Linked DNA regions of Homo sapiens: region 1 is linked to region 2. Evidence: promoter capture Hi-C in human tissues and cell types (Jung and others, 2019). All regions are on one chromosome and are shown on one strand. The core of a region is centred on a gene start or on the middle of the fragment in contact, and the rest is flanking DNA. Distances in the headings are between cores, read along the strand shown. Region 1 overlaps RNF180 (ring finger protein 180). Region 2 holds the start of RGS7BP (regulator of G protein signaling 7 binding protein).

Region 1 (7,097 bases), core at 1,509-4,008, 260 kb after region 2:
TCTTCCTGGTTTAGTCTGAGGAGGGTGTATGTGTCCAGGAATTTATCCATTTCTTCTAGATTTTCTAGTTTATTTGCATAGAGGTGTTTATAGTATTCTCTGATAGTAGTTTGTATTTCTGTGGGATCACTAGTGATATCCCCTTTATCATTTTTTATAGTGTCTATTTTATTTTTCTGTCTTTTCTTCTTTATTAGTCTGGCTAGCAGTCTATTTTGTTAATCTTTTCACAAAACCAACTCCTGGATTCCTTGATTTCTTGAAGGGTTTTTCGTGTCTCTTCTCCTTCAATTCTGCTCTAATCTTAGTTATTACTCGTCTTCTGCTAGCTTTTGAATTTCTTTGCTCGTTTCTCTAGTACTTTTAATTGTGATGTTAGGGTGTCGATTTTAGATCTTTCCCACTTTCTCCTGTGGACATTTAGTGCTATAAATTTCCCTTTAAACACTGCTTTAGCTGCATCCCAGAAATTCCGGTATGTTGACATTGTGTCTTTTTTCTCATTGGTTTCAAAAAACTTTCTTATTTCTGCCTTAATTTTGTTATTTACCCAGTAGTCATTCAGGAACAGGATGTTCAGTTGCCATGTAGTTGTGTGGTTTTGAGTGAGTTTCTTGAGTTCTAATTTGATTGCACTGTCATCTGAGAGACTGTTCGTTATGATTTCCATTATTTTGCATTTGGTGAGGAGTGTTTTACTTCCAATTATGTGGTCGATTTTAGAATAAGTGCTATGTGGTGTTTAGAAGAATGTATATTCTGTTGATCTGGGGTGGAAAGTTCTGTAGATGTCTATTAGATCCACTTGGTCCAGAGCTGGGTTCAAGTCCTGAATATCCTTGTAAATTTTCTGTCTCGTTGATCTGTGTAATATTGATAGTGGGGTGTTAAAGTCTCCCTCTAGTATTGTGTGGGAGTCTAAGTCTCTTTGTAGGTCTCTAAGAACTTGCTTTATGAATCTTGGTGCTCCCATATTGGGTGCATATATATTTAGGATAGTTAGCTCTTCTTGTTGCATTAATCCTTTACAATTATGTAATGCCCTTCTTTGTCTTTTTTGATCTCTGTTGGTTTAAAGTCTGTTTTATCAGAGACTAGGATTGCAACCCCTGCTTTTTTTGCTTTCCATGTGCTTGTTAAATATTCCTCCATTGCTTTGTTTTGAGCTTATGTGTGTCTTTGCATGTGAGATTGGTCTCCTGAATACAGCACACTGATGGGTCTAGACTCTTTATCCAATTTGCCAGTCTGTGTCTTTTAATTAGGGCATTTAGCCCATTTATATTTAAGGTTAATATTGTTATGTGTGAATTTGATCCTGTCGTTATTATGCTAGCTGGTTATTTTGCCTGTTAGTTGATGTGGTTTCTTCACAGTGTCATTAGTTGTTGCAGTTTCTTCATAGTGTTGATGGCCTTTACAATTTGGTATGTTTTTGCAGCGGCTGGTACCAGTTTTTCCATTCGATATTTAGTGCTTCCTTCAGGAGCACTTGTAAGGCAGGCCTGGTGGTGACAAAATCTCTCAGAATTTTCTTGTCTGTAAAGGATTTTATTTCTCCTTTGCTTATGAAGCTTAGTTTGGCTGAATATGAAATTCTGTGTTGAAAATTCTTTTCTTTAAGAATGTTGAATATTTGCCCTCACTCTCTTCTGGCTTGTAGGCTTTCTGCAGAGAAATCCACTGTTAGTCTCATGGGCTTCCCTTTGTGGGTAACCCGACCTTTCTCTCTGGCTGCCCTTAACGTTTTTTCCTTCATTTCAACCTTGGTGAATCTGAGGATTATGTGTCTTGGGGTTGCTCTTCTTGAGGAATATCTTTGTGGTGCTCTCTGTATTTCCTGAATTTGAATGTTGGCCTGTCTTGCTAGGTTGGGGAAGTTCTCCTGGATAATATCTTGAAGAGTGTTTTTCAACTTGGTTCCATTCTCCCCGTCACTTTCAGGTACACCAATCAAATGTAGGTTTGGTCTTTTCACATAGTCCCATTTCTTGGAGTCTTTTGTTTGTTCCTTTTCATTCTTTTTTCTCTAATGTTGTCTTCATACCTTATTTCATTAAGTTGACCTTCAATCTCTGATATCCTTTCTTCGACTTGATTGATTTGGCTATTGATACTTGTGTATGCTTCACAAACTTTTCATGCTGTTTTTTTTCAGCTCCATCAGGTCATTTATGTTCCTCTCCAAACTTGTTATTCTAGTTAGCAATTTCTCTTTTTTTCAAGGTTCTTAGCTTCCTTGCGTTGGGTTAGAATATGCTCCTTTAGCTTGGAAGAGTTTGTTATTACCCACCTTCTGAAGCCTACTTCTGTCAATTCATCAAACTCATTCTCCATCCAGTTTTGTTCCCTTGCTGGTAAGGAGTTGTGATCCTTTGGAGGAGAAGAGGCATTCTGGTTTTTGGAATTTTCAGCCTTTTTGTCCTGTTTTTTCCTCATCTTCGTGGATTTATCTACCTTCGGTTTTGATGTTGGTGACCTTTGGATGGGGTTTCTACGTGAACGTCCTTTTTGTTGATGTTGATGCTGTTCCTGTCTGCTTGTTAGTTTTCCTTCTAACAGTCAGGCCCCTCTGCTGCAGGTCTGCTGGAGTTTGCTGGAGGTCCACTACAGACCCTGTTTGCCTGGGTATCACTGGCAAAGACTGCAGAACAGCAAAGATTGCTGCCTGTTCCTTTCTCTGGAAGCTTTGTCCCAGAGGGGCACCCACCAGATGCTAGCCAGAACTGTCCTGTATGAGGTGTCTGTCCACCCTGCTGGGAGGTGTGTCCCAGTCAGGAGACTCGGGGGTCAGGGACCCACTTGAGGAGGCAGTCTGTCCCTTAGCAGAGCTTGAGCACTGTGATGGGAGATCCGCTGCTCTCTTCAGAGCTGGCAGGCAGGAACGTTTCAGTCTGCTGAAGCTGTGCCCACAGCCACCCCTTCCCCCAGCTGCTCTGTCCTAGGGTGATGGGAGTATAGAAGTATCTATAAGCCCATGACTGGGGCTGCTGCCTTTCTTTCAGAGATGCCCTGTCCAGTGAGAAGGAATCTAGAGAGGCAGTCTGGCTACAGCAGCTTTGCTGAGCTGCAGTGAGCCCCACCCAGTTCAAACTTCCAGGCGTCTTTGTTTACATTATGAGGGGAAAACCGCCTACTCAAGCCTCAGTTATGGCAGACACCCCTCCCCTGACCAAGCTTGAGAGTCCCAGGTCAACTTCAGACTGCTGTGCTGGCAGCAATAATTTTGAGCCAGTGAATCTTAGCTGGCTCCATGGGGGTGGGATCCACTGAGCTAGACCACTTGGCTCCCTGACTTCAGCCCCCTTTCCAGGGGAGTGAACGGTTCTGTCTCACTGGCATTCCAGGTGCCACTGTGGTATGAAAAAAAATCTCCTGCAGGTAGCTCAATGTCTGCTCAAATGGCCACCCAGTTTTGTGCTTGAAACCCAGGGCTCTGTTGGTGTAGGCACCTGAGGGAATCTCCTGGTCAACAGGTTGCAAAGACTGTGGGAAAAGTGTAGTATCTGGGCCAGAGTGCACTGTTCCTCAAGTCACAGTCCCTCACGCTTCCCTTGGCTAGGGGAGGGACTTCCCTGACCCTTTGTGCTTCTCAGGTGAGGTGATGCCCCACCCTGCTTTGGCTCACCCTCTGTGGGCTGCACCCACTCTCTAACCAGTTCCAGTGAGATGAACTGGGTAACTCAGTTGGAAATGCAGAAATCACCCACCTTCTGTGTTCATCTTATTGGGAGCTGCAGACCGGAGCTGTTCCTATTCGGCCATCTTCAATCTGGGATCCCAATAATGTGATTATTATATGTCTTGAGGCAGTCTTACTTGGATTGAATCTGATTCGAGATCTTTGTCTTTCCTTTACCTGTATTATTTACATCTTTTTCCAGGTTGAAAGGTTTCTTTAGATAAGCTTTCTTTCCCTTTATCTTTCTCTTCTCATTCTTGAACTCCTATAACTTGAAGATTTGTTCTTTTGATGATGCCCAAAACTTTTCAGCTCCAAAATATCTGTTTTGATTATAGTATTATTACTTCACCTTATTACATTTCTCGTCCTGGTCACTTACAGTTTCCTTCAGTTTTTTTAATTGTTTCTCTGTATTTTCTGAGGTTCAGTGAGCTTCTTAAAAACAGTGATTTTGAGTTGTCAGGCACTTCATACATGCATTTAATTAGGGTCACTGACACCTTATGTTGTCCATCTGGTTATATTACATTTCTCTGATTGTTCTTGATCTCTGTTCTCATGCACTGATCTCTGCACAGCTGAAGTAGGAGTTACTTATTCCAGTCTTCACAGACTGGCTTTGTCTGGGAAAGCTCTGTGGCAGATGTAGGTGGTGCTGGGGTGCCAGAAGCAGCCACGATCAGTGTAGGGCTGACAGAAGCCCAGAGCCCAATATGGCAGACATGGCAGTAGGGTAGGGCTGAAACCCAGGACAGATGTAAACAGCATAGCACTGGATTGTGTCAGAAGGCTGGGGCCTCTGAGAGCTGCCTGCCACTGAGGGCTTTCTGGAACCTGAGGCCAGTGGAATCAGTCCAGTGCAGGAGGGTGGGAGGACTAGAGACTAAGTCAACCATGTAAGCTTGAGGGTGGTTTTAGAGGATCTGTCAGTGAGTACCAGCCTGGAACATGGGGCTGTGGGGTTCTGCTGAATGCTGTGGTGGGCCTGGTGTTAGCATCCATGGCAAAGTCTTGTGCTCACTTCCCTCTTTTTCCCCCAGGAAAACAGTATCTCTCTCTGTGTTGTGCTGCCTAGGGTTTGCGGAGGAGTAATGTGGGTAATGAAAAACTGTCCTTCCTACCCTCTTCAATGAGTCTTTTTAAAATTAATATTATTATTGTGCTACAACCAAGTACTACAGCTTTTCACCTGGTTTCCTTAGCTCTTATGAAGATATTTTAGTACACAGATAGTTGTTCAAATTGATGTATAAGACTCATCTACTGTGTGCCAAATACTGAGCATACCCTCCTCCCAAAGACTTTTGTATTAGTTAAGAAAGCTGTCAAATGCAATAAATAGAATAAGTTATCATATGCAGCTCAAATAAATTGGGGTTCATTTCCTTATGTACTAAAATGTCTGAACTTGTAGGCTGCAAGACTGGCTTCCACAGGTTTAGGCAATGGGTTCTTGTTTAAGACAGAAAGAAAAGGTGTCTGGATCAGCCACATCTGTCCCTTTTGTACATAAGAGAAAGCTTTCCCAGAAGACCCCAGCAGATGTCTGCTTATTTCTCACTGATCTGAATAATGACACACAGTCAATCCTAGCTACAAGGAGACTGGCAAAATGAGTAAAATATTTAGAATTTGTGTCTTTGTTTTTTGGGAAGGGGTCTTCTACAGTAAAGGCAGGCAAAGAAGGAGGCTGGAAATAGGTGCTAAGTTAGTGAACTAACAATGTCTTCCACTATTGTATTTGTATTATATTTGCATAGTTCCAAATCATGTATCTAATGTTAAAAATACAACTGGGAGAGACCAACATATGAATCTCATTTATATATACTTAATAAAATGTCATTCATTCAATAACATTGAATTATTATTTGTACAGTAGTAAATACAACCCAAAACACCTTTTTCTTGTGAGATTTATAGTCCAGTAGGGTAGAAAAAGATTAAAATATGTATTAGGTGGCAATAAGTACTATGAAGAAAAACCACACTAAGTAGAGAAATTAAGAATGTAGATGTAAGGTAGGTAGGTCACTACTTCAGAAAGGGTAGTCTAATAAGGGTCTTTCTAAGGAAGTGACATTTGAGTAGAGATGTGAATGAGGTAAGGGACTTATGTGGATACCTCAGGGCAGAGCCTTCCAGGCAGAAGAAACAGTAAGTGTTTGGTATGCTAGGAAGATGGTGAGAAGACGATTATAGGTATAGGAGAGTGAATGAGGGGGTAAGTAATCAGTGATGCCACCTGAGAGGGCATATCACAGGATATTGTAAAACCACACTTTTAGGGAATCATCATGGTTAAAAGTGCTGAAGTAACTCTGTCACCCAATTTCCACTGTGAAGCTAAAACCAATGACTGCATATCAGGTACACATGTTAGCATGTTTAACTGCAATAACAAAGTTTAGTAATGATTTTAAGGAATCTGAGGTTCATATTAGGTAAGGCTTTCATAGACTCTATTATAAATATATTATGTCCTCCTCATTTAGGCATATGGCCTGCTAATCCTTGTCATATAGTTGTGTGAAAAATGCTGGATAAAGCAAATTTTATCAGATTTAATTCATAGAGGACCTACTGCAGCCTTTATTATACTGATCTGCATTTTGAGTCTTCAAAAAGAAGATATGGTTAATAGGGCATTTCTATATTTAATATACTATGAGAACATTTTGTTAAGATTTTGAGAAAAGCAAACAATGAAATGCTGTTATATATTATAGTCTATGGATATCTATTATGCTGATGGTTTGTGCAGAAGAAGGACATGGGGAACCCTTCCTATTCAAATCTATTTGGTTCCTCAGTTAATGAGTTCAGAGAGTGAAGAGCAAGAATACATAGGGCAAATGTGTATTTCTGAAAATATGTTCAAACCCATTTGGTTCCTGAGTTTAAATAGTGAGGAATACCTGTATATAGGTGAGCAGTACATTAGACATTTAATTAAAGATTTGGAAAGGTAACATAAAAATACATTTTGTTATATTTAGCAAACAATTGTAATGCCAAGTAGAACTTTTATGACATTTGTCATTTAAGGTACAGATCTGTTCCCCTGAAACAATGAATTTGCAAAGTAACCATTTTCAGATGAAGGTAATGTTTATTTTTTAAGATGATCGTTATTTATATCCAAGGAGATATATTTATTAGCACTAGCATATATTTAAGACAATGATAACAGACTCATGACATAAAACACCATGTTTCATAAAATCGCTGATTTTAAACTGTTCTATCTGCCAAATGAAGCCAAATTAATAATTCAGCTACCTCTAAAATGCCATAATCAATACAACAGCTCTTAACTCAACTGAGAAACGTTATTTCAAAAGACAATTGTCTTTTGAAATAGACTACTCCATTCTTGTTTCAAACCAGACACATTTTAAAAAGCAAGCTC
Region 2 (6,257 bases), core at 2,848-5,347:
GCTTTTCTCACTCCTGCTTCAAACTTTAAAGTGACTCCTACAGCCTCCCTACCAGCCTTCACATCAAGCTTGAAACAAGAACCCACATAACAAATGATATCAGAAACGGAATTCCGCCAAAGGGAATCACATCCTTCATTAACGGAGCCCAGATGGTGAGGAACTAAAGGGATTTCCTTCAATTATATTGCTGTCATTTTTTATAACGAATGTTAAATTGCATTTAATTATTATTGTAAGGGGGGAAATGTGTCAAGTTCTATCCTAGAATATTTTATGGAGTTGGTTTTCCTTTGGCAAGGCTCTAAGAACATCTTATTTTCCCACTAATTCTTATAAAACTGCCCCCATTAACATCAACACACAGATAACATGCAAACAAGTAGCAAAGAGCTAAAAACACCAGAGTAAATAAAATCCACCTCAAGCCAGGTACCATGGTGCATTCTTGTAGTCCCAGCTACTCTGGAGCCTGAGGCGGGAGGATTACTTGAGTGCAGAAGTTTAAGACCAGCCGGGGTAACATAGCTATAATACCTCTCAAAGAAAAAAAAAATCCACCTGAAATCCTCCAAACTCAACTTTTAGTCAATAGTTTCAGACCTTTTCTTTCCTGAACCTTCAGAAGACCCTGAATTTTGTGTGTGTCGCAAAATAGACTGAATCGAACTCCTTGTTCATTCCTCCAGCCCACCATCTCTGATTAGAACATGTTCTCATTTTGAGTTCCAACTCAGAGGGATCCTAAATGCAATCCCATCCTATAATCTAGGACACAAAGTTTACAGAGTTGCTACTCCTTAGCCTTGAGAGAAAATTTCCTGTCCTAAATCTGCTTTTCCTTTTGAATTACTGTTTATCTGTACTTCTAAATTTACCAGTGCTCCTTCACATTTCTGATTTTTTTTTTCTGTCTCTCTCCTTGTCTGAGATTTATCACAGCTGTATTTCTTCACCAAACTCCTGAACCACTTAATTCCCCTCCATTTCCCGGATTTACTTCTTGTTAAGAATAGTATAAGAGTTAAAACAGAAAAGGATAAGGCTTCTCAATATTTTTACTAAATAAAATATGGTTATAACATATTTTGTTTATCCCTCTCTTCAAGGAGATGAGTACAGCATATCATTTTTCATGATATAAAATGCCTGTGGTCAAATGTAAAGTAATTATTAACAGAGGCAGTATATGGCTTTCCAATCTTTATAAACTTTATAATCACTATACATATTATTGGAATTAAAGATGGCAAACAGTGATTCTTTCAAATAGGTAAATTAGATATACTTCCTACAAGTGATCAGCTTGTAACATTATCAGGTGAGTCTAATTTGAACTTCTGCTGCGATAAAGCTATACTCACATAGATAAACAGGTAAATACTATATCCAGACTGAACAAAGCACTTAAATTAATGTATTGATGTATTTGTATAAGGATTCCTGTGTTTCCTTGCTCTAAGTACTTATCTTGAAAATAGGAACTGTTAACAAAATCCATGGCTAACTTTTTCCCCAATATTAAGAGATGAAAGAAAGTGTAGGTAGGGTCCCAAGAGAGAAGTTTTCACATACTGAATTATCTCCTAATACAGGCTAGAAAAACGATAAATCTGATGAAAATAAATAAAAATTTGGGGGACAAAATCATGTTAGGTTTATTGAGATATGTGAATTTCCCCAATCTTTAAAAACTGTTCTTATGCTAAAACTTACCCCTTCCTATCACCACAGTGAAGAGAGTAATTTATATCTAAGACCTTATTTTAGGGATTTTATTTTAGGCGGTATCATAGGAATTTATCTCATGGTATAAATAGTTTAGTAAATCTGGGATTTGGGAAAGAGTTTTTCTCTACAGCACAGGCCTTTTGTTCAGCAGCAGATGACAAAATAATTTTGAGGCAAGATGATTTAACTTCAGTTTGATGTCCAGCCATCCACCCCAAATCTTATGCTCCAAATTCCAGAATGTGGCCAGAGTATTGAAAATTAAGTTTTTAAAAAATCATTTGATCCAAATCTTCTAAATATATATACATATATGCAAGAATGACACAGCCTTCAAATTATGGTTTGGCCTATAGTTTGTGTATAGCTCTCTAGAGAATTTCGATCTTAAGGTTAAAATCTCAAATATGTGGAGATCATGTCTGAGGACTTGACTACCATAAAATTCTGTCAGCATCCATGCATCATGTATATGGATTACCAAATAATGCCGAGTCTCCTACCCTGAGATGGCAGCCAATTTTTGGTGTGCCTGACGGGCCATTTCACAGCCTTTGGTTCTTGTCTTGTGCATTTCCGCCCGGAGTGAGGGGCAGCTGACCGAGACATCCCCAATAGAAATGACCAGCTCTCGGTACAGGGCCACTTGTGTGTTGAACTCTTGGACAAGCTGGAAAAGAAGTGAGTTTTTTTTTTTTTACCAAACATTTCTCATCAGAAAGTTTCCTGTTTCGGAGTACATAAACAGGGGCTTTCACTGACCCCTGAGTCAGCTCCCCAGATCTCCAGCTAAGGAACCTAGGAATTGTTTAAAGCAGAAGGCACCAAAATGGCAAGTCTCTTTGTCCAAGGCAAGTATTTATTTCCATAGGCAAGCCTGGCCATGGAAGCTCTATTTCCAGACCTACTTCCCCTCACCCTTTCAGACTCAGTTTCTGAAGAGCAAGAGAGCATATTTGGAGCGCTACCATGCCACTCCCAGGCCAACAGAGAATGATGCTGGGGACTCCTACATAGACGGTCCCCTCTCCTACTGCTAGGACATGGCTTTTAAGTTGCACGGCGGGAGGGGCGGGGGAGGCGACAGGTAGGGTGTAATAGGCAAACCATTCACCTTTTGCTGGGCCACTGAACCTCTCGGCCTGACGGCCTGACGGGAAGACCAGCTACAGCCTCTGCGCTGGAACCTTCGACCCCTCCGCAGCGCCCCGTGCGCTGTATTTGGGTTTGTTTGCTACTCTGTCCCCAGAAAGCAGCATCCCCACCTCCTCATCCCTCCCTCCTCCGTGAGCGAGCCAGTTCACTGTGTCTTTCGCATCCACCATTCTTCGAGGGGGTACAGGCACAACCTACAGCCGCTGATCCCCAAGACCCTTGCTGTCACACTTCTTTCTGCAGGGTTATTACGACCAGGGTGTCACCCTGAATTTGGGGGACTGCAGATTTAAAAATAGTGCATGTGCCACGTGATCGGCATTGAGGAGCTGAGGGTGGGGGAGTGGCTGGCACTCAGGCAAATGATTAACATACATGACTCCCCCCACCCCCTCTCAATTAAAAAAAAAAAAAAAGAGGCGCAGTTTTCACCCACCATCTTGCAGTCGTCCAGGGCTCGTTGGGTTTTGTGGGCGCTCTCGGAGCCGCTGCCCCTGCGCTCCCAATCTCCGCTCTGCAGCGGGGGCTTGCTGATCTGGAAGATCGAGGAGCGGGTGGACCGGCTGGGGCGCTTTTTGCGCCCATTCGGTGCAGAACTCATGCATACACATCCACCAAGCCGAAGCCGCTGGTGCAGTGCGCCCCGGCGCGGGCGGCCCGGTTGTTGCCCTGGGCGCCGCCGCCAAGCAGCCGGAGCCCGGACCTGAGGCGCGCAGCTCACAGTGCTGGGGCTGGCTGCGCGGGTCGGTAACCTTCAGCTTGAAGGAGAGCCGGGGAAGCGCTAGCTGTGCCGTGCAGCATCGCTTCCACTAGCAGCGAGGAAGGAGCGCGATCAAGTTCTGCTCAGCAGCATTGCCGACCCTGTCCCGGGAGCTGGGCGCTGGCGCGGGCTCGCACTGCCTTCCTCTCGGCATGGATTGCAAGGCTGGGCGAGAAGGAACGCGCCGCCCGGCGGTTCCGAGTTTCCATTCAGGTGGGGGAGCAGCTTTCAAAGCCTGCGCTGCAAGGTGGGGGGCGGAAAGGGGTGTCGCTCTTGCTTCAGTGTCTTCCCGCAGCGGCACTCGGTTCGTCTTTCCCCTCCCTCCACTGTCGCCAGGCCTGGAAGGACTGGCCGTCCCCAAAGCAAGCAATTGGCTCTAATCGGCTGCCTTGATCCCTCGTCTCTAAGGGCTTGTCTGTTTGAAGATCCCAGATGAATCTGTGGCGGGACTGGCAGACGCAGAGAATCGGTCCGGCTGACGTTGTTCGCGGGCCCGCACATTGATAGGACGGGAATACTAATGTGATCTGTCCATGCAACCCCCTTCCCCCTCCACAGTTTATGCACTTATCCAATCAAATCCCCGGGAACATCAATTGCAATATTACTTCATCTGCTCTATTATTAGAAACGAAAAGTGTCATCAGAGTGGAGCACATGCCACATGCTGGGACCTAAACATGGATTTCAAATAAGCCAGTGTGGGCTTGAGGCCCTCACCAACTGAGACTGAGACAGGGGCCACAGGAGGGAGTGAGGTTTTGCTCCAAATGGAAGACCTCTTGATAACCTAAAAGGAGAGCTTTGTTTCCCTGAGTTGTTTTGTTTTTATTTTGTCCTTGTTCATGGAGGGGGAAAGAGGAGAGCCAGTGAGGCAGAATGCACAGAGGCATTCACTCAGATTGGGCCTCATCCCCATCCCATTTCAAGTAGTAAAGCTCTTGGTCTTGCATTGCAGGGTCTCAGGACTCAGCTCCTAGAGTTCCCTTCCGGAGACTTGAACAAATAAGAGCCAAGAGATCTCCCTGGACACTCAAAATGACCTTCTTCTCACTTATGGGATATCAGTAACCCAGAGGCCAACAGAGGTGGCCCAGAAAATCGGGGATGATTCTTGTGTGAAAGGAGTGGGGGTGAGGCCCTCAGCCATTTAAGTTCACCCTTCCCACTGACATCTTCCTAAGGTTCTTCTGGGAGGAAGAGAGAGTGTTGTGGCATTCAACTCTAAGGCTCTAAGGATGCTTGTTCTCCTGAATGATTTGTTTGGAGAGGGAGATAAAGGGGTCTCCCATAGGAAAACTAGTTATGTATTAGTAATCCTAATAAGAACAGATTAGAGGTTCCTGGTCAGTCTGTTAAAGGGATATGGAGAGTACATAGAAAGAGAAAGCCTGAAATAGCCAGGAAGGTTAATATCCTAAGGAGGGTGGCTTTACAACCTTTTCTACAAGACAAGTAAATATAATGGGGTACTATAATAAGAGAGTTATTTGGTCTTTGTCCCCAGTCCCTAGGGCAGAACTCCTAAAACCCTTAGAAATTGCCTGAGTTATTATGATAAGCCATCTTGTCACCAGAAAGACCAAGCCTTGATTAGTTGCTTGCAACTTTCAGCCTCATCCCCCAATCTCAGGGGATAGGAGAGGAGCTAGTGACTGCGTTCCTCACCAATGGCCAATTATTTAATCAATCATGCCTACATAAAGAAACCTCTGTAAAACTCCTAAACAACAATAGAGTGTGGGGAGCTTCTGGGTTGTGGAAGACATCTAGGTGCTGGAAGGGTGGTACACCAGGAAAGAGCATGGAAGTTCCATGTCCTTTTCCCATACCTTGCCCTATGTTTCTCTTCCAGTTGGCTGCTCCTCAGTTGTATCCTTTAGAATAGACTGCTAATAGTAAGTAAAGCTCTTTCCTGAGTGCTGTGAGTCATTCTAGTGAATTACCAAATCTGAGAAGGTGGTTATAGGAACCCCTGAATTTGTCGCCAAGATGGAGAGAAGAGTTGGTAACCTGTGGATCCCATACTTGTGACTGGCCTCTGAGATGAGGGCAGTCTTGTGGGACTGAGCCCTTAAACCTGTAAATCTGACGTTAACTCTGGGTAGTTAGTGCCAGAAATGAGTTGTAGGCCACCTAATTGGTGTTAGAGAGTTGGAGAAGTGCTATTGGAAAAGACATCATGTATTTGGGTGGGAAGGAAAAAAAACCTAACAGATGGATCACTGAGTGGATATTTGGCTACATTTTTTTTTTTTCTGAGTCAGGGTCTTGCTCCGTCACCCAGATTGGAATTTAGTGACACCATGAGAGCTCACTTCAGCCTCAACTTCCTGGGCTCAGGTGATCCTCCCACTTCAGCCTCCCAAGTAGTTGAGACTACAGGCACATGCCACCTAATATTTTGTAAAGACAGAGTTTTGCCATGTTGCCCAGGCTGGTCTTGAACTCCTGAGCTCAAGTAATCCACACACCTTCACCTGCCAAAGTGCTGGGATTACAGGTGTGAGCCACTGCGCCTGACCAGAACTTCACACAAGCTTGAGAGTGAGTTTTCCCTATCAAAGACTAGAGAAAGGAGGCATCAGCTCTCAGGCCCAGACCTTGGTGT

Evidence for each region. Contacts are between HindIII fragments. The study calls those that stand out against the background at their distance.
Region 1: a contact is called between a fragment that was not itself captured here and the fragment with the promoter of RGS7BP in region 2, in 3 of the 25 tissues and cell types used here (H1 embryonic stem cells, dorsolateral prefrontal cortex and spleen).

The regions. Positions count from the first base shown.
Region 1 is chr5:64,239,469-64,246,565 of GRCh38, reverse strand. All of the region lies in intron 5 of RNF180 (ring finger protein 180), which reads right to left. Among named protein-coding and RNA genes, the nearest start is that of RNF180, 77 kb to the right of the region's middle. The HindIII fragment of the contact is 4,276 bases long and covers 621-4,896 here.
Region 2 is chr5:64,503,855-64,510,111 of GRCh38, reverse strand. It overlaps RGS7BP (regulator of G protein signaling 7 binding protein), which reads right to left and starts at 4,097. Exons shown (of 6, transcript NM_001029875.3): 1 at 3,323-4,097; 2 at 2,235-2,401. The coding sequence starts at 3,487. The HindIII fragment of the contact is 10,674 bases long and covers 1-6,257 here.